2 separate regions of the Homo sapiens genome follow, and region 1 is linked to region 2. The links are contacts of gene promoters, found by promoter capture Hi-C in human tissues and cell types (Jung and others, 2019). All regions are on one chromosome and are shown on one strand. Each heading gives the region's core, a stretch centred on a gene start or on the middle of the fragment in contact. The rest is flanking DNA. Distances are from core to core; before and after follow the strand shown.

Evidence for each region. Contacts are between HindIII fragments. The study calls those that stand out against the background at their distance.
Region 1: a contact is called between a fragment that was not itself captured here and the fragment with the promoter of SLC7A2 in region 2, in 2 of the 25 tissues and cell types used here (aorta and heart left ventricle).

What each region holds. Positions count from the first base shown.
Region 1 is chr8:17,914,720-17,918,508 of GRCh38, forward strand. LOC124901892 (endogenous retrovirus group K member 25 Env polyprotein-like) reads right to left here and starts at 1,268. Exons shown (of 1, transcript XM_047422511.1): 1 at 1-1,268. The HindIII fragment of the contact is 3,187 bases long and covers 1-2,848 here.
Region 2 is chr8:17,495,410-17,499,374 of GRCh38, forward strand. It overlaps SLC7A2 (solute carrier family 7 member 2), which reads left to right and starts at 1,679. Exons shown (of 13, transcript NM_001370338.1): 1 at 1,679-1,828. The HindIII fragment of the contact is 11,749 bases long and covers 1-3,965 here.

The sequences.
Region 1 (3,789 bases), core at 5-2,504, 420 kb after region 2:
GAGTAGCTTTTGCTAAAATCTCCCAATCGTCCGGGGCCAATCGCTTGTCCTGAGTTACTGAGTGTAATAGTGACTGGACAGAAGGCGAATTGGGACCTTACTGACCAACAGCTGCTTTGAGATCTTTAAGCAGCTTAAAAGAAAATGGTTCCCATACCGCCTGATGGGCACCACCCTGCTGCTGTGGGAGTTCCAAAACTACTGGAAACTGCCAGGCATCGGGATCTCCAGCTAACCTAGCCTGCCGAATAACCATTTGAAATGGTGATTCATTGACATTAGGTGGCAGTGCAGCCCTATGCTGTACTGGTGCTGCAAAACGTGTTCTTGATTCCTGAGCCCCTAATTTATCCATTCGTGAAACAGGGCAAATTGGAGATTCAAACCTCCAAGGCTCCAGGTTACGTTGCCTTATTGGAGGTGGCCACTCCGGATGATCCCAATGAGGAGCCAAAGATTCCTCAAGGCCCTTCTTTGTTTTAAACATATTGGCATAAATAGCTTCTCTATTTTAGGAGCAGCTGGAGGTCCCACATGCTCCTCAAAAGAAATTAAGTCATCTCCAGGTTTGTCTGTACTTTCCTCAAAATCTTCTTCACTATCCTCTCCTCCTTCAACTTCCTTTATATTTATATTGGCGGCAGCACCGCCTTCCTCCGCTGGAATTCTTTCTGCCGGAGGATAAACCTCGTTTTCCATTTGAAACGGTTCCAAGGCTGCTTTAACCATAGCCCAGTCTGACCAGACCGTTAGAAGAATAAGTTTTCCTTCCTTATGAACTTGTTTTAAGGCAATTCCAACCTGCTCCCAATCTTTTAAATCCATGGTACCTTATTCAGGAAACCAAGGGCAATACTGCTCTACTGTTTGAAACAGAGTAATCAAGTTTTCTGTGCTAGCCTTTATTACCCCCCTCTTTAAGAGGAGTTTGATAAAGTGTAAGTAAGCAGAGTGCTTACTTCCCGATTGTCCCATGGTGTCCCTGGAATACTCCGAGCACACAAGCTTACCGCAAGGCCGACCACACGTTCTTGGGAGTCCCTCGACAGACTGGTCTCCGCAATGACCATGCTCAGGTGTAACTCCACCTGGGTACAAGGAGCCCACACTGGGTGCCAAAGATGTAGGGGAACCAGCCCGCTACACCACATGCGTGTTCTCCCCTTCCCGGTGGAAATGAAGGAATGAGAAAAGAAATAAAGACACAAAGTTCAAGAGTTAACAAAAGTGGGTCCAGGGTTCCATCACAACACGGAAACTGCGAAGGCCTTGAGCTCTGGATTCCACTGATGTTTATTGAGTACAATTCCTTTGATCCTATGGGCTGAGGGTGGGCAGATGGTTGGGTGATCATAGAGTGACCATGGGGAGAGGTGGCAGAGGGGCTTAACAGAACAGGATGTGAAAGCAGATAGCCCGTCAGACCACAGGCCTGTGCATCAAAGGAGTGGTCCACTCCAAGCACCATCAGCAGAGCAGCAGAGCTCTCCGCCTCTGGGAACGAGCGAGAGATAGAAGACTTCCTCCTCATCTCTACCGCAGAGGACTTCTCCTCTTTTACAAGCAGCCTCCTGCTGTTCCCTTCTGGGGAATGGAGCAGGGGTCGCTTCCCTTCCCACGAGACCTTTGTTCAGGGACTCAAGTGGGAGGTTGAGCAATAAGCAAGCTTTCTTGCTTAGAGGCTCCGCACACTTCCTGCGGTTGTTTGTTCCACTCTGTGGTCAGTCAAGCAAGCTCACCGCCTGATTCTTATATTGTTGGACTAAGCACAAGCTATTCTTATGATTCATGACTATATTAATAAAGCACTATTCTAAAGCATATATTGTTAATCCTTAAACAGGCACACTGTACGCTGGCCCTCGACTACCTCGGCCCACATCCAAGCCCCTGTTTTGACCCACAAACCTCTCCTCTATACCAGTGTGTTTCACCCGCTATCAGAGTTTTACTTGTTTCCTTATCTAGATTGGGGAGAGTCTTGGATAGACCGGCCTGCCATCCAACGTCCTTGGTTTTTAGCCCTGGAAATTATTTAGTTCTTCTGGTAAGGAGAGGGCATTTTCTCTTACCTGGTTAATCTGAATTCACGTGTGTTTTGCTAGTTCTCCCCTGACTTTGGGATCTTTCTCATGGAAGGAGAAATGCAATGTGGAAGCCTTTTTACGGTAAAATAAAAAATTATAAGGCCAAGGTGGGTGGATCACAAGGTCAGGAGATCGAGACCACCCTGGCTAACACGTTGAAACTCCATCTCTGCTAAAAATACAAAAAATTAGCCAAGCGTGGTGGCGGGTGCCTGTAGTCCCAGCTACTTGGGAGGCTGAGGCAGGAGAATGGCTTGAACCCGGGAGGCGCAGGTTGTAGTGAGCTGAAATCGTGCCACTGCACTCCAGCGTGGGCGACAGAGCGAGACTCTGTCTCAAAAAAAAAAAAAATTATAATATATACAGCTGTAGCTTTCCTACATAATGCCGTGAATTTAACATGAATCATTGTAACCCCAATCATGCCACATACTCCTCTGCTAGTCCGTATGGATGCATATTACAAATCTAGTTGTCACCTGCAGATCTCTTTATTTCTGTGAATAAAAACTTATTTGACCCAGAAACCAACTTTTATAAAATCACTCCAGATTATTCCTTATAACCATGATAATTTTGAGTCCTTATTTCATATCATTTTGTTTTGATTAACAGCTTTTTTAAAGTGAAAGCTGAGGTTTAATTTTCATGCCTTTCTAACATTTTTCCTATGAATTAGGAAACAAAATCTGTATCAGCCCATATTTCCATATTTTTGGAACTCCCTCACCTAATTATCCAATTTTTCTACTTAATTACCAACATATATCTAGTTACATAGTTCTGGTTTAACTGTTTTGGTATAGTGCTGGTGGGAAACAAGGAAAAAGATGTGGATTATTTTCCTTGTAGTTTTAAAAAATGGTTACTCATATCTCTCCGTTTAAACCTCTCCAACTTGGTGTGTCTTGGGAAGGAAGCAATTTACTCAAGATTTTACTACATGATTGCAGCTTTGACCACATTTTCAGTGAATAGAGAAGATGACGTAAAAACATACATACAAGAAAAATACAGGAAGAATCATGTAGTAATCACAACTCTGTAGAAGTAAAGCCATGTGAAAACTGATGAAATGCAACTATAGATGAAATTGTCAGAATCACGAAGGTTACATCCATTAAATGAGTGATTTTTGAAAGAAAAGAACATAAATTGGTTATGAAGGAAGAGGCAGTTCAGACCGTTACAAACGTTAATATTGTATGTCGACGGCAGTAATTAGGTATTTTCAAATCTAATAATAAAGAATCAAAACTAGGCAGTAATGAGAGATGTTCTGATAATTAGATCTGGGGAAAACAGAGCAAAGTAAAAAGAGCCTTGAAACATTACTTACGCATGTGGATTTGATAGAATTCGTTGACATAATTATATAATGGCTGGTTGATTAGATTATATACATCAACTTTTAAGTTTTTGAGCAAAAGAGTTATGGGAGAAAAATCTCCCTCCCCAAACTCCCGAGGATGCTTGGCAATCAATGTCAGGAGACATTTTTGGTTTTTACAATGGACAGGGGTTTGCTCTAGGTATACAGTGGGTAGAGGCCAGGGATGTTGCGGAACCTCCCGGAACGCACAGAACCGCCCCACAACAAGAATCACCCAGCCCAAACTGTCAATAGTATCAAGGTTAAGAAACTCTGGGCTAGATTAAAAGGTAGAGAAGTTAACCGTGCTACAATTTAACCAAAAGGTGT
Region 2 (3,965 bases), core at 429-2,928:
ATTAATGATAATTTGCATAAGGAATCTTTTTTTGACTGTAAAAATAAGTTTACTTTGACAGTCTCTATTACTTAAGACATTTGGTCTATCAGATAATATCTTCGTAATCATAGTGCTGTTTAAACTTTCAGTTTTTTTGTTCGTTTGCTTTTGTTTTTGAGACGGAATCTCACTCTGTCGCCCAGGCTGGACTGTAGTGGCACTATCTCGGCTCACTGCAACCTCCGCCTCCTGGGCTCAAGCGATTCTCCTGCCTCAACCTCCCGAGTAGCTGGGGTTACAGGCGCCCGCCGCCGCGCCCGGCTAATTTTTGTATTTTTAGTAGAGACGGAGTTTCACCCTGTTGGCCAGACTGGTCTCGAACTCCTGACCTCAGGTGATCGGCGCGCCTCGGCGTCCCAAAGTGCTGGGATTACAGGCGTGAGCCACCACCCCCAGCCTACACTTTCACTTTTTGATGAAATCCATGGATGGCTTCCTGAGATACATTGAGATTTTGTGTGTGTGCTATCTTCTGGAATGAAGCCCCACACCGTTTATTAGATGATCTTGGGGATATATGTCTTGAAGGGAAGAATGATTTAGAATATCACATTAAAATTGTATATGTACTGTGAGGCAGCAATACAAATCTGGCACTTTGCCAAAGTTATTACTAGTAGGTGGGTTAAAGGGACGTTTACTCCAATACTATGCAAAGTAAAGTGGACCTTTCTGTCAAACAAAAATAGTAATAGGCCGGGCATGGTGGCTCAAGCCTGTAATTCTCAGCCTGGTGGCTCAAGCCTGTAGTTGTCAGCACTTTGGGAGGCTGAGGCGGGAGGATAGCTTGAGCCCAGGAGGTCGAGGCTGCAGTGAGCCACGATTGTGTCACTGCCCTCCAGCCTGGGCGACAGAGTGAGACCCTGTCTCTAAAGACAAACCACACACACATATACACACACACACTGACACACACTTATTGTTCAATTCAGTGCGTGTTTTGCTTCGTTTTGGATGAAAATTAACAGGCTTTCACATTGTGACTTAATCTTATCAGAGACTCCTAAAGTAAACAATAGCGCAGTAGGAGAAACCCTGATTGTGTAACTTCTGCTCTTGCTCCCCTGGAAATAATGTCATTTCCTATAAACCCACCCCCAAACAATCGTGACTACGTATTCATACCACTGGAGTCTTCCAAAATAGCAACTGCACATTATTTATCAACGTTTAGTTTGCATTTGACAAAGCACATCCACCTGGGCTTCCATTTATCATTGCTATTATTATATTTTATTATTATTTTCTTATTTCCAAAATCTTTGTAGAATGGAAAGTAAACGGGGGGACCAAAACCCCACTTAGAACTCTGCTTAGAAGATTCGGAAATGCCCTTGAGGTTTGGTCCTCCCAGGAGAGCACGAAGTTTATCCTCGCGCGCAGCCTCTCTTCCCCGGCCCGCGCCCACCGGCCTAGCCCGGGGCTAGCGCCCGCCCACGTGTGCTCGGCTCCAGGCAAACCCCGCTGAGCAGCGGCCGCACACCGCCCACCCCGGGGATTGGTCAGCGCGGCCGGGGCCCGGCGGGAGGCGGGCTCGGGGTCGCGTTCCGGGAGCGCGGAGGAGGCGGTGCCGCCCGGCCCCGCGCCCCGCCCCCGCCCCGGGTGGCTACACAGAGGGGCGCCCACGTGCCCAGCCCTCCTTCTGCAGCGCGGCCGGCGGGCGCTCCTCTTCGCGGGACCAGCGAGGCGGCGGCCGCTGCTCCAGCGTCCCCCAGCCGCGGGCCCCCGACGCGCTGCAGCCGGCAGCCCACCGCCGCCTTCTTGGCGCGACCCCAACCCAGCCCCAGTAAGTTGCTAGGTCTCCAGCCCCGCCGAGAGGCCGCGGGCGAGGGGCAGCCCGGACGCTGGGGCCGGCGGGGAAGGAGCGGGGCGAGGGCGCCCTGGGGCCGGCGGGGAACTAGAGGGTCGAGGGCTCCCGGGGACGAGTCCAGCTGCGCGCAGCTGCCCTGAGGCCGCGCTCCAGCGAGTCTTCGTCAGGGAGTCGGGGCCGTGGGCTGGGGCTGAAGCCGTGGACCTTCGTCCTCGGGGCTGCGCCCCGGAATGCGCCTCGCCTCGTCCGGTCCCTGTGCAGCCGGCTCTGCCCGGGGACTTCGGGGACCGCTGGAACTGGGAGAGGGGCTGGCACGGCGACTTCGCGGGGACCCTTCAGTCACTATTTCCAGAGGAGCTCGGCGCACCCCTCTCCGGGTGGGCAGGCTGAACCTCCTGGCCCTGCACGCTGCCGGGGTCCCCGAAGCCGCCTTCGCTCCTTTTCGGTTCTTGGCTTAAATTAGAAAGCCGGCTTGGAGCGCTGGAAGCCCCTTCACATTCTGCAGGGGACCTGGTAAAATAGCCCGTCTTGGTGTTTGTATTGGGTATTTTAAAGTAACTGGGTGCCTTTTAAAATCCGTTTGAGATGGGCTGTATTTTATAAGCCCGTTTCATGAAACGCTGTTCTTGAGGCTTAGAGAATCTCCCAACCCATCACCCCAGAGTACCTGTCCGTTCAGAAAGTACCTTTTCATCCTCTTTTGACGCTTACATCCAGTCTATGGAGTAAGGTATTGAGAGATTGTCATCTTCAACTCGTCGAAAAGAAATATGCTCAGCAAAAGCCACAATCATATGTGGCTTTTGAAGTGGATATAGTGCCTGGATTTCAAGAGAAAAAGTACTCAGCCTCTTCAGAGTTGTAAATATTTGTGCAAAACTGGCTAAAGCCTTTAGGTGACTAATTTTGGACCAGTAATAAGATTTATCTAGACGTTTGTGCAGAAACACTAATCCTTTTAATGAGAGGATATCGTCAGATCTTATTCAAATAAGAGCTCTCTGAATCCCATCCAGGGCCGCCTGGGTTATAAAATTAGAATGTATGTGGCCTTGACTTGATACTTTTTCATTCTTGCCTGAGCTAGTCTTTAAAAGTTAATAATTATCTCCTCCGGAAGGTGAAACATTCTGTGTTTGTAATCTTTCTCTAGGAGATGTATAAGATGTGAATATTCTGTATTATGTACCTTGTTAGGATTGCTTTGTAATTAGTAAATCCTTTTTTATTTTAATTGCACTGAAGCGTGACATGAAATGATCTCTCAGTGCAGAACACAGGACTTCTTCCCTCTCCTTTTCCTACAAAGTTGCTAGTTGCCTGCTCTGGGAGGCCACTTTATTGTGATTTTTCAAGTTTCTTCCCTCGGCCCACACTTTGTTTACATTCTGTGCCTTCATCTGGGAATGGTCATTTACCTTAAGGCATTTTAATCTTTTAGGGTGTGCCATGGCCTTGGAGACCAGAGTAAAGCGCTGTGGTATCTGCGGGGATCAGTTTGCAGAATCCTTGGCCTCCTAAGCAGTGGGCATAGCTCTTTTCATTCCAGAATCTCTGATCATTCCAGAGTCTCTCCTGTCACTGGGCTTAGGAGCCTGGGAAGGCGAATAGAAGCTAGCTGGGGAGACAGGGGAGCTGTGGCAGTTTAAAAAGCCTGATCTTGCGCTGGAGTTTTTCATCTTGCATTCTCATGTATCTTTGCCTTTTGAACACATGTGCCTGAAGAATTTTAAAGTTCACGTTTCTTGCTTTGCACTGCAAGCACACTCACCTTTGCAGAGTGGAAGTGCCTTGTCCCCATTCTAGGTGGTCTACCTTCTGTTCTCTTTTCAGACCTCCTGGCTTAAGCCCTTGTTTCTCCTGGCTGTTATGGCCAGACCCGGAGTCCCCGTTGTGCCCATTTCTTCTCTTTTCAGTCCTTCCTTTTCAAATGTTTTTTCCCAGAAGTCCTCTGGCAACTTCTCTATTTCACCTAGCCTCTGTCTTCTCTTGTTTTATTTTTCCCTCTCTCCCTCCCTCTCTATCCCTCTTTCCCCCTCTTTCCCTCCTTCTCCCTCCTTTCTCTCTTCCTCTCTCTCTGTCTCTCTCTCTCTCTCCCCCTCTCTCCCTCATT